Linked DNA regions of Homo sapiens: region 1 is linked to region 2. Evidence: promoter capture Hi-C in 16 types of primary human blood cells and fetal thymus (Javierre and others, 2016). All regions are on one chromosome and are shown on one strand. The core of a region is centred on a gene start or on the middle of the fragment in contact, and the rest is flanking DNA. Distances in the headings are between cores, read along the strand shown.

Region 1 (5,960 bases), core at 3,130-5,629, 600 kb before region 2:
TCCGCAGAATCCAGGAGTCCTCCAGCTGAGAACGAGGTGTCCACCCCCATGCAGGTGAGCTCCTGTTCTTGTAAAAGGGTCAGGGCTGCAGCACCTCGTGTTTAGGAGTGTGGGCTGATGCCAGACCGAATTTGGTTTAAATCCAGTTCTGTCACTAGTAGAAATGTGGTCGTGGTGAGTTACCTGTGCTTTTCAAACCTCTGTGAAAGGGAATCATAGAAATTATCTTGTCCCAGGACTGTAAGGAGTGGAGCAGCGCTGGCCTGGCGTGCAGAACTGCTCTGCGTCTAGCAGCTGCTATTTCATCTCTGAGCTTTTTGGACAACGCTAATGGCTTAGCTTGAGATTGGATTCTGTTTATCTGCATCCTTCCCCTGTGGACTCTTGGTGACATAATTTGCTGGAAAGAGGATTACCTCTGAAGCTGCTTAACAAATTCCTTGAGTAATCCAATTTCCTATCCAACTATATCTCCTCCTGTGGCCCTTAATTCCCTAAATGCTAAGCTGGGAGTCATAGCCACTTCTGGAGCTGTGCGGCACAGGGAAGGAGCCTGGGGCTCTTGAACCTTATCTGTGTTCCATGTAGGAACAGCTGCAGGTGAAGCCCATACCCATGGGGCTAGAGTGCTCCCAACACGGGTTCTGGGGAAACTGACACCGACTGAGGACTGGCCACATCCTGCTAAACTGTGAGCCTTGCATTTGCTGTTTCATTGGCTCCTTATGTTAACATTGCAAGGGAGTGCTTGTAAGGGCTTTTTTTTTTTTTTTTTTTTTTTTTTTTTGAGACGGAGTCTCGCTCTGTCGCCCAGGTGGGACTGCGGACTGCAGTGGCGCAATCTTGGCTCACTGCAAGCTCCGTTTCCCGGGTTCACGCCATTCTCCTGCCTCAGCCTCCCGAGTAGCTGGGACTACAGGCGCCCGCGACCGCGCCTGGCTAATTTTTTTTGTATTTTTAGTAGAGACGGGGTTTCACCTTGTTAGCCAGGATGGTCTCGATCTCCTGACCTCATGATCCACCCGCCTCGGCCTCCCAAAGTGCTGGGATTACACGCGTGAGCCACCGCGCCCGGCCTTGTAGGGCTTCTTAACGTGAGTTAAGTCTGAGGCCAGGGCCGGGCACAGGGGCTCACACCTGTAATCCCAGCACTTTGGGAGGCTGAGGCAGGCAGATCACCTGAGGTCAGGAGTTCAAGACCATCCTGACCAACATGGAGAAACCCTTTCTCTACTGAAATACAAAATTAGCTGGGTGTGGTGGCGCATGCCTGTAATCCCAGCTATTTGATAGGCTGAGGCAGGAGAATCGCTTGAACCTGGGAGGCGGAGGTTGCAGTGAGCCGAGATCATGCCATTGCACTCCAGCTTGGGCAACAAGAGTGAAACTCCATTTCACAAAAAAACAAACAAAAAAAAAGAAGTCTGTCCAAGGTGACATAGCTCGTAAGTGGTGGAACCAGCATTCCAGTCATGGTAGTACCTGCATCCTTGCATCGGACCTGTAAGGACAACAGCTGCTTCAGTGTATCCACTGAGCATCTTCTCTGTGCAGCTTTAAGCTTTTGGTGGAGAGGCAGGTGGAAAGAAAGCCCCACCTTTAGCAGGCATGGTGTGGATAGAAAAAATGCAAATAATAGTATTATTGATTTTTCCACTGTTATGAATGAAATGGAGAAAGGAATGCTTTGGGTGGATCAGGGAGGGCTCTGAGGAGGAGGTAACTCCTGAACTGGTTCTGAATGATGGTGCAATCTGCAGAAACAGGCTGATGGTGAGGAATGTCTCTTTTAGGCACTTACTACTAATAAAGACGATGATAATATTCTCTTCAGAGATTCTGCAAATGCGACAAGCCTCCCAGGTAAGGACTGGGTATTTTCATATTCCCAGGGTCCGAGGGACAGAAGATTTGTCTCTGCAGAAAGTCCTTTCTTATTTGGACATGTCGTCAGAGGATCAATCACAGATCAATCGCAGAAATGTTCTGTGTGTGTGTGTGTGTGTGTGTGTGTGTGTGTGTGTGTTGGAGAGAGTCTTGCTCGGTTGCCCAGGCTGGAGTGCCGTGGCATGATCTCGGCTCACCACAACCTCTGTCTCCTGAGTTCAAGCGATTCTCCTGCCTCAGCCTCCCAAGTAGCTGGGATTACAGGCGCATGCCACCATGCCCAGCTAATTTTTGTATTTTTACTAGAGACAGGGTTTCACTATGTTGGCCAGGCTGGTCTTGAACTCCTGACGTTGTGATCCACCCACCTCGGCCTCCCAAAGTGCTGACATTACAGGCATGAGCCACCGTGCCTGGCCAGAAATGTTCTTTTATTACTTTATATGTTGAACTTTGATATTGTTAGCTAAGATATAATGAGGAGACCGTAAGAAAAGTGGGACAAATCACTTCGAGATATTTGAAAAGTGAGATATTTCACAGTTGGCCCACAATACAAATGAATGTGCTGCAAACAAGATTATTGGAGTCTGAAATGGAATACCTGTTGAGGGAAATCTTTATTTTGGGAGCCCTTGATTTCAATGCTTTTGATTCCCTATCCCTGCAAGACCAGGAAAGCTTACCAGTATTTGAATCAAGAAAGATCACAAGTCCTGTGTTTGACTAGGTATATGGGACTTATGGAATCCAGACTCCAGAGGTTCAGTAGTTGAGCAGCTCCCCTGATGACTCTTGGGCTTCGTGAGGCAGTCCTTGCCCTCGTTCCCCATCCCTGGGTGGATTCCTGCCTGCACTGATGCTGGCTGCCTCTGCTACAACAGCCCAGGTACAAAGCCCTACCATGGTGCAGTGCACCTGTGGAGGACCTGCTAAATACCTGGGGCTGAGCTCTGCACAGTTGGGGACTCGGAGAGGATTAGAGCCATCCCTGTTCTCAAGGAGGCTACAGTCCAGGCTCTGACAAAGAGTAAATTGGTAACTGTGACAAAGACCAGCATGTGAGATGGGCCAAAAGGGAGGCACAGATAAAGCAAAGTGGAATTTAGAGATTTGAAAGAGTATATCAAGCTGAGCAGTCACAGAAAGCTCATGGAGGAAGTGCCATTTGAAATGGGCTTTGAATGGTATGGGTGGGATGCAAGAGGTTGGGTGTTCAAAGGTTGCTATGGGCCGGGCGCGGTGGCTTACGCCTGTAATCCCAGCACTTTGGGAGGCCGAGGTAGGAGAATCACCTGAGGTCAGGAGTTCAAGACTAGCCTGGCCAACATGGTGAAACCCCATCTCTACTAAAAATACAAAAATTAGCCAGGCGTGATGGCAGGTGCCTATAATCCCAGCTACTTGGGAGGCTGAGGCAAGAGAATCACTTGAACCTGGGAGGCAGAGGTTGCAGTGAGCTGAGATCGAGCCACTGCACTCTAGCCTGGGCCACAGAGTGAGATTCCATGTCAAAAAAACAAAACAACAACAACAAAAACAAAAGCTGCTATGGAGGAGGGGAACCTCCAGTCCTCTTCGTCCACCCTCACTGATGATTTTTTTTCTTTTTTTTGAGACGGAGTCTCGTCAAGCGATTCTCCTGCCTCAGCCTCCCGAGTAGCTGAGATTACAGGCATGCACCACCACGCCTGGCTAATTTTGTATTTTTAGTAGAAACGGGGTTTCTCCATGTTAGTCAGGCTGGACTCGAACTCCCCACCTCAGGTGATCTGCCTGCCTCGGTCTCCCAAAGTGCTGGGATTACAGGTGTGAGCCACCGCGCCTGGCCAGCATTCTCAAATTTAACATGTCTAAAAGAGAACACCTGACGCCTCCCCACCTATTCAACCCAGATCTGTTCTTCTCCATCTTCCCTATCTCAGTAACTGGTACCGCATTTGCTCAGGTGCGGGGGATCGGGCAGGCTTCCTCCCTACTCCTCATCCTGTGTCCAGTCCCTCAGCAAGCGTTGTCCTTGTGCTTTGAGACGTATCTAGGAATTGACCACTCCTCACCATCTCCAGTGCCAACACCCAGTCCAGCCCCTGCCGCCTCTCATCCAGCAGGGCTTCCTGGGCTGCCAACTGGTCTACCAACTTCTAGTCTTAACCCCCAACCAACTCTTTTCCAACCAGCACTTAGAGTATCCCTTAAAACACAAATCCAAGCTCTCTCTGGCTCAGTACCATCTCCCCCAGAGTAAAAGTCAAAGTCTTGACAAAGTCCCCAGTTTCTACGAGGAGTCCCAGCAAAGCCATGTGGTCCCCTATCTTTAGACGTTGCCTCTCCATTCTCCCTTTCCTCGCTCTGCCCCAGCCACACTGCCCTCCTTGCTCCTCCACACATGCTCTACCTCAGGGCCTTTGCACTTGCTGTGTGCTCTGCCTGGACACGCTTCCTCTGACATTCACTTTGCCAGCTCCTTCCTATTACTCAAGTCTCTGCTCAGATGCACCCTTCTCCGGGAGGCTTTTCCTGATAATTTTTTTAAAAAACATTTGTTTGGCCGGGCGCGGTGGCTCACGCCTGTAATCCCAGCACTTTGGGAGCCGAGGCAGGTGGATCACGAGGTCAGGAGATCAGGACCATCCTGGCTAACACGGTGAAACCCCGTCTCTACTAAAAATACAAAAAATTAGCCGGGTGTGGTGGCGGGTGCCTGTAGTCCCAGCTCCTCGGGAGGCTGAGGCAGGAGAATAGGGTGAACCCGGGAGGCGGAGGTTGCAGTGAGCCGAGACAGCGCCACTGAGCAAGACTCCGTCTCAAAAAAAAAAAAAATTCATTTGTCTGTCTCCCTTGATTGGATGTAAGATCCATTTAGATACATGATAGGCACTCAAAGAATATTTGTTGGATGAAAGAAGGAACAAATATATGGCCAGGCGCCGTGGCTCATGCCTGTAATCCCAGCACTTTGGGAGGCCGAGGTGGGCGGATCACCTAAGGTCAGGAGTTGGAGACCAGCTTGGGCAACATGGCAAAACCTCATCTCTACAAAAAATACAAAAATTAGCCGGGCATGGTGGCATGTGCCTATTGTCCCAGGTACTTGGGAGGCTGAGGTAGGAGAATTGCTTGAACCCGGGAGGCGGAGGCTGCAGTGAGCGGAGATCACACCACTGCACTCCAGCCTGGGTGACAAGAGCGAGACTCCATTTCAAAAAAAAAGAAGGAACAAATAGAAAAGATGATGAAATGTTAATAAATGAGCAAGCCAAGCATACTGCTTTCATTACACAGCTGCATCTCTCAAGAGACATGGGACATGCTTGGAGAAACTTGTCTTTGCAGCCAGCGCCCGCTCACCAGTCTGGGCTCTCTGCGCTGCCTGACTCTAGTAGGCATCTGAAGTGATGGCTGGCAGGCAGCCTCTTCGTCAGCAGTGGATTGCATTTTGGGTAGAAGAGCCTGAATGCTGGGTCCATACAACTGTGACTGCATTCCCAGCAGAAGGAGATGGTTTTGTTTAGATGTGCCCTCTGTCTAGTCCAGGGACTCTGGCAGTGGTAGGAAGAGCCTTTCTGTGGGAAGACATGGCTGCTTGCAAAGCTGGTTTGTTCTTTCCTTCATTCAAAGAAATATTTTGGCGATCCTACTTTGTATTCGGCACTGTGTAAGCTGCTGGCAGTGTTACAGTGAAAAAGACACATGTGGTCCCTGCCTTCAGGGAACTCAGTCTAGAGGTGGAAATGGAGAAATACTGGGAGGGGCACTTGCTCAGCTTGGAGTGGGGTCAATTCTCAAAGGAAATGACATCACCTCATCTGAGATCCAAAGGCCAAGTAGGGACTAGACCACAAAAGGGTGCAGCAAAGGTAGAGAAAACAGACAGGAGAGAAGAGGGAACGTGTGTGGAGAGCCCTGGAGGAAAAAGATCATGGCTTGTTGGAGAACTGAATGAAGTTCATATGGCTGGGGCTTGAGTACCAAATGCAGGGACAGGCAAGAGATGACACCCCCATGGAGAAAACTGCTTCCAAACACTTGATTTAAAGCATCCAATCCTCTCTGACATTGTCCTCAAAGGAACT
Region 2 (5,821 bases), core at 1,433-3,932:
GGCCCCAGCCATCCAGCTCCTAAGGTCAGGGCTGTGCCCGTTTCTGAATCCCAGGATTCAGCCCAGCCTAAGACACTCAGTGGACCATTAGGAAGCAGGCAGAAAAGGAGAATGAGATTTAATACAGTCTGCTCATAGAAAAGCAAGAGGGCCGCACAGAAACAGGAGGCCCAAGGCAAAACCAAAGTTTCTACCAGAGGGCTGCAGACCAGAAGCTCAGTGCAGTTCAAGGGACAGGAGGAGGCAGGTGGGCTGGGAGTCAGGAAGGCCTCATGCAGGGGCACATGGTAAGGCACATGGAATCTGAGGAAGCAGACTCCAGTCCATACTCCCTCATTAAGTTGTGTCACCTTGGCCAAGGTCTTCACTGAGCCTCAGTTTCTCCCTCTGAAGAATGGCAAGACTGGAGAGATCTGTAAGGCCTGCTCACTGGAGATCAGCCTAGAGTGGTGGTCAGGTGTGGGACTCCGGTGCCAGAGGGCCTAAGTGTGTATCCCGGCTCCTTCCCTCATTACTATGACAACGGTGTGACCTTGAGCACATGACTTAACTGCTGTGCCTGGGCTTTTGCCTTCCATAAAATGGGGTTAACTACTCCATCTGGTTGTTTTAAGGATTAAATGAGTTGTACTTACATGGTGCTGGCATGCAGCAAGTTCCATATGCATGCATGTTATCATTGGGTGACCCTGGGCAGTGATCACATCTCCAAGCATCAGTTTTCTCACCTGAAAAAAAGGAGATGATAATAACACTATCTGCCTTACATGACAATTGAATTGAATTTTTTTTTTTTTTTGAGACTAAGTCTCACTCTGTCGCCCAGGCTGGAGTGCAGTGGCGTGATCTTGGCTCACTGCAACCTCCACCTCCCCAGTTCAAGCGATTCTCGTGCCTCAGCTTCCCGAGTAGCTGGGATTACAGGCACACACTACCACGCCCGGCTAATTTAGAATTGAAATAATTTATGTACAGTATCTTAGTACAGGACCTGACATTATAAACAATGAGTGGCAGCCATTCTTATTTAATCAGTCCTAACAAAGTTCATAAAAGTGAGACTGTGTTTGCTTAGCTTTTTCCCTAGGGCCTGGATACCCCCAGCCCCCATGACACACAATAGGGGCCAAATGAATGTGTTGTGAAAAAATGAAAAACAAAAAACAAAAAAGAACATGCTGGGATTCCTTGACAGGGTCGTGAAGCAAACTGAATGTGAATGCACAGATGGAAATGTGCCAGACAGTCATTCCAAGCAGAATGTGCAAAGACTCAGTCCACAGGGAATGCGAAGTGCCAGGGCTAGTCTCAGGAGAAACTGGCTCAGAAGAGACAGCTCTCAGGGAGGGCTAAAGTAGGAAAGAGGCTAGAAAGGGACCAGGTGAGGGAAGGCTCTGAAGGCCAAGCCCAAGAGTTCTGCCTGTCTGGCAGGCAGCAGGGCCTCTGGAGTTTCTTGGGCAAAGAGTGGCTGCTTCCTGGGTAAGGTGGCCTGTGGAAAATCCCTGACAACTGTGTAGAGACATGTCGTGAGGGATGGCAGGGAGCATAGTGAACTAGGTTTGTGGTTTGGAATCAGGGCCCCTGGGGTCCAGCCAAGTTGGATTGTTTACTATCTGTGTGACTTTGAGAGTCACTTCACCTTTCTCAACTGTAAAGTGGGGATAGCAACAGTGATAGTCGATCTGGCCTGCTCACTTCTCAGCCTCACTGTGAGAACCAAATAAGATGATTTACAGGAAAGTGCAAATGAGAGTTGTGGCTGATATCCGCTTGGAGAGAGCCTGGAGGGTGCATCCTCCCATTCTCCATCACAGAGTTGGGGAGGGAGGCACCCTCGCCCTCCAGGGGTTTCCTTTGTCCAACCCAGCCTCCTCCAACACGCGGGAATTGTCAGGCCTGGCGACTTCAGACAGGAAACGCTGTCCAGTTCCCCTTCTTTCCCGCCTCGCTCCCGGGCTGGCGCTAACGCCCACCTCCCAACAGCGCCACCCGCTGGCGGATATCCTGCACCGCGGCTGCCCGCTCCTGCGCCGCTGGCTGTGCCGGCGCTGCGTGGTGTGCCAGGCACCCGAGACGCCCGAGTCCTACGTGTGCCGGACGCTGGACTGCGAGGCCGTGTACTGCTGGTCGTGCTGGGACGACATGCGGCAGCGGTGCCCGGTCTGCACGCCCCGCGAAGAGCTCTCTTCCTCCGCCTTTAGTGACAGCAACGACGACACTGCCTACGCGGGGTGAAGAGGCGTCCTGCTCGCTCTTCCGCACCGTCCTTCCCGGTTAATAAAATGCCCTGTACGCTTCACGTGGGTCGGGGACTGGGGTGAGCCGCGCACTGCCTCGCCTGCAGTCGGGAAAGCCTGCCCGCCCGACCTCTCCGAGCCAGGCCGCGCACAGGAGGCAGGGAGGCCGCGAAGCTACTAGGGAGGGGTCCGGACCTGGCGCCGGGTGAAGGCGCGCCGCCCAAGCCGGTCGGACCGGGCACCGGCTCCCACTCCGCACAGTTGCGGGGAAGCGGTAGCGCTGAGCAGCGCGGGCGTAGTGGGCGGTGTCCCCGCTCCCGAGGCACCCGGCGCGCAGCGGGGCGGGCTTTGCCGGGGGCGGAGCTTGGCTTGGGGCCGGGTGGGAGGGGGCGGGCCGGGGCGGGGCCTGGTGGCCGCGCGGCGCTGCTGGGTTCTCCGAGGCGACCTGGCCGCCGGCCGCTCCTCCGCGCGCTGTTCCGCACTTGCTGCCCTCGCCCGGCCCGGAGCGCCGCTGCCATGCGGCTGGCGCTGCTCTGGGCCCTGGGGCTCCTGGGCGCGGGCAGCCCTCTGCCTTCCTGGCCGCTCCCAAATATAGGTGAGTCCTCCGCCTGGAGTGGGTCGGGGGGCGGACTGGGAGGGAGGTGCAGGAAAGTCGGAAGGCATTAGGGTAATGGGGCCGGACGGAGACCCTGGGAGAGCCCAGCCAGAGCGCGGCCCGCCCTGGTCCGCTGTCCTGGGCCTAGGGCCCGGTGACTTGGCGATGGGGTGAAAAGAGAAGGAGGGGGGATGCCGGCGCCCCCTGCCTCCTGCCTGGTCATCCTCTGCGCGGTCCCTGCGGACACTTTCAGGCTCAGGTACCAGGTACCGAGGGGCCTGTCCAGCGCCACTTCAAGATCGTGATGAGAGGGTCGCTGCTCCCCAGGACTGGCATCTTCGCTGCTCTGGGGCCTAGCTAACCGTTCGACCCGGTGCCAGGGCGCTGAGCGGGCATGGCTTGTAGGGTTTAGTGAAGAGGATTCTCTCTAGCCTCTATTCCAGGCCTGGGGCCGCCAGGCACTCCTCACCCTGGTGCTGTTGCCACCAGTGCCTGGCCGAGCGGGAGGGGCCCGAGATGAGCCAGGAGAAGGGAGAATTGGCCAGGAAAGAGGCTGGGACACCAACTCCTCCTTGGAACTTTCACTTCCCGCTGCTGTCTTGGGCCGGGACCGAGAGGGCAGGCGCGGGTGGAGTGTCCGGAGGAGAGAGGGCCATTGTGTGTTGGGGGGGTGGGGGGTGCTCGAGGAGGAAGCAGAGGCTGTAGGCAGCGGGTGTGCCTGACTGGGCATGAGGGTGTTTAGGGAGGTGGGGGTGTTTGCACTGCTCACCCAGAAATGGGCGTTCCTGGCATCTCCGATGTGAGCGAAGGGGAGGGTGAGCGGGCACCCGGCCACAAGGCTTAGCTCAGTCTCGAGAGGGGGCGTTCCTGAAGTGGGGGGAGAGTGATTGGGAGGGAGTGGGAACCGGGGAGGGTCCTGTGAGAACCTGGGATTGGCCGGAAGGGGACAAGGAGGGCCACAGGCTGCGCAAGCCGAAAGTCTTTCTTGGGGACTTGTGAATGGGTTGGTGGGTGGAAAGCCATAAATTAGAGAGACACCCTCTCCTTCCAGTATTCTTCTTTAAGTCTCAGCATGCAATGTGGAAGCCCCTCAGGTACCTAAGGGTCTTGATGGGCTGGGAGCTGGTGGATCTGAGGGCACCTGTCACCCCCAGCCCTGCTGTCGATTCCCTCAGTACTGTCTTGGGGTGTCCTGGGACCTGCAGGTGGCACTGAGGAGCAGCAGGCAGAGTCAGAGAAGGCCCCGAGGGAGCCCTTGGAGCCCCAGGTCCTTCAGGACGATCTCCCAATTAGCCTCAAAAAGGTGCTTCAGGTGAGCTCTCACTCCCCTCTAATAAATAAACGAATCCACACACGCCCCGGTATAGCCAGGTGTCTCAAAGCCAAAGCTTGGCTGAGGAGCTGGTGGGTAGAGCTCACTGTAGTGGGTCTATCCCAGGCCCAGCTGCCTCTCCCACCACACCCCAGCACCTGGCTTCACTTATCTCCCTCTCCCTCTGCACACACGTGTATCTGTCTGCCTCAGCCCCACCCAACCCATCCATCTCCACTGGGGAAATTGTGAAGCCAAACTTGCTTTCTTCATCTCATGTTGTCGGTTTTCTCAGTGGGGGGATTTGGAAAGAGTCAGGACCTTACCAAACCCCCCCCCCCCCACCCCATTCTAAAGCTGAGTCAGAGGAAGGGCTGGGGCTTGTGCTGGGTCCTACACGGTGCTTCCTCTCTGGGCAGGAAGCCGAGAAGGGGTGGCTCAGATACCTTCCTTGACCTCCGCACACAACCCCCCAGAACAATGCTCCAGGCCAGGCAGGGTTTCCTGGCCCCTCCCCTGGGATCCCCCCACCAGTGATCTAATTGCTGGTGCTCTTCTGTGGGCCTGAGGTTTTCTGGTTAGAGAGGCTGGGAGTTGTGGACAGGTCTAGGGAGGTGACCTGCCCTCTGGTGCCCACAGACCAGTCTGCCTGAGCCCCTGAGGATCAAGTTGGAGCTGGACGGTGACAGTCATATCCTGGAGCTGCTACAGAATAGGTAATAGTGATGGTGGCAATAACAGTGACCACATGGCCAACAACTTGTATAGCATTTATTATGTGCCAGGTACTAAGTGCTTGTGCTCATTTAATCCTCATAACAGCCCTATAAGGGATATACTATCATGTATTATTGTCCTCACTTTATACATGAGGAAGTCAAGGCACAGAGAGATTAAATAACTTGCCCCAGGTCACACAGCTAGTATGTGGTGAAAACCAGATTGGAATTCAAATAAACTAACAGAGTCAGTGGCCCAACCAGTATACTTTGCTGCCCCGGGGTCAGGAGTGGAAAAGTTGGCTGCGGGGGTTGCCTGGTCCCCAGCCCCACAACCACCTTCAAGCCTCTGCTTGTCAATGCACGACCTGGGAAGTGGCTTTAGCACTGCCTTCTTTTTCTTCACTCCACAGGGAGTTGGTCCCAGGCCGCCCAACCCTGGTGTGGTACCAGCCCGATGGCACTCGGGTGGTCAGTGAGGGACACACTTTGGTGAGTCAGGCCCTCTTGTGCCATTTTTGGCTTAGGGGAAAGAGGGAGGGGGTGGCTGGAAGGTGAGAGGACACTGCATATTTTTACCGTCAAGCTAGGCTCCTCAGTTCCAGTCCTGGTGTGCTCTCTGAGACAGCACTAATGTTGTTCCCATGCTGCAGGAGAACTGCTGCTACCAGGGAAGAGTGCGGGGATATGCAGGCTCCTGGGTGTCCATCTGCACCTGCTCTGGGCTCAGGTATACTGGGCGGATTTAATGACAGTAGAGAAAGTAAGGAGACCCAGGCATGGAGCTGAAATGTTCTCTGACTTTCTTTTTTCTTAGAGGCTTGGTGGTCCTGACCCCAGAGAGAAGCTATACCCTGGAGCAGGGGCCTGGGGACCTTCAGGGTCCTCCCATTATTTCGCGAATCCAAGATCTCCACCTGCCAGGCCACACCTGTGCCCTGAGCTGGCGGGAATCTGT

Evidence for each region. The method cuts DNA at HindIII sites, captures the fragments that hold promoters and counts their contacts. A CHiCAGO score of 5 or more calls a contact.
Region 1: a fragment that was not itself captured here is called in contact with the fragment with the promoter of ADAM15 in region 2 in 1 of 17 cell types (neutrophils); the score reaches 5.3 in neutrophils.

The regions. Positions count from the first base shown.
Region 1 is chr1:154,448,118-154,454,077 of GRCh38, forward strand. It overlaps IL6R (interleukin 6 receptor), which reads left to right. Exons shown (of 10, transcript NM_000565.4): 7 at 8-54; 8 at 1,794-1,863. Among named protein-coding and RNA genes, the nearest start is that of IL6R-AS1, 45 kb to the left of the region's middle. The HindIII fragment of the contact is 3,626 bases long and covers 2,567-5,960 here.
Region 2 is chr1:155,048,634-155,054,454 of GRCh38, forward strand. ADAM15 (ADAM metallopeptidase domain 15) reads left to right here and starts at 2,683. Exons shown (of 23, transcript NM_207197.3): 1 at 2,683-2,832; 2 at 4,038-4,144; 3 at 4,784-4,860; 4 at 5,277-5,355; 5 at 5,517-5,593; 6 at 5,681-5,821. The coding sequence starts at 2,754. DCST1 (DC-STAMP domain containing 1) reads left to right here. Exons shown (of 17, transcript NM_152494.4): 17 at 1,984-2,297. The coding sequence ends at 2,235. DCST1-AS1 (DCST1 antisense RNA 1) reads right to left here. Exons shown (of 4, transcript NR_040773.1): 2 at 636-728. It overlaps ADAM15-EFNA4 (ADAM15-EFNA4 readthrough), which reads left to right and starts at 2,683. Exons shown (of 26, transcript NR_176418.1): 1 at 2,683-2,832; 2 at 4,038-4,144; 3 at 4,784-4,860; 4 at 5,277-5,355; 5 at 5,517-5,593; 6 at 5,681-5,821. RefSeq lists an enhancer at 1,858-1,917 and a silencer at 2,388-2,847. The HindIII fragment of the contact is 11,546 bases long and covers 1-4,218 here.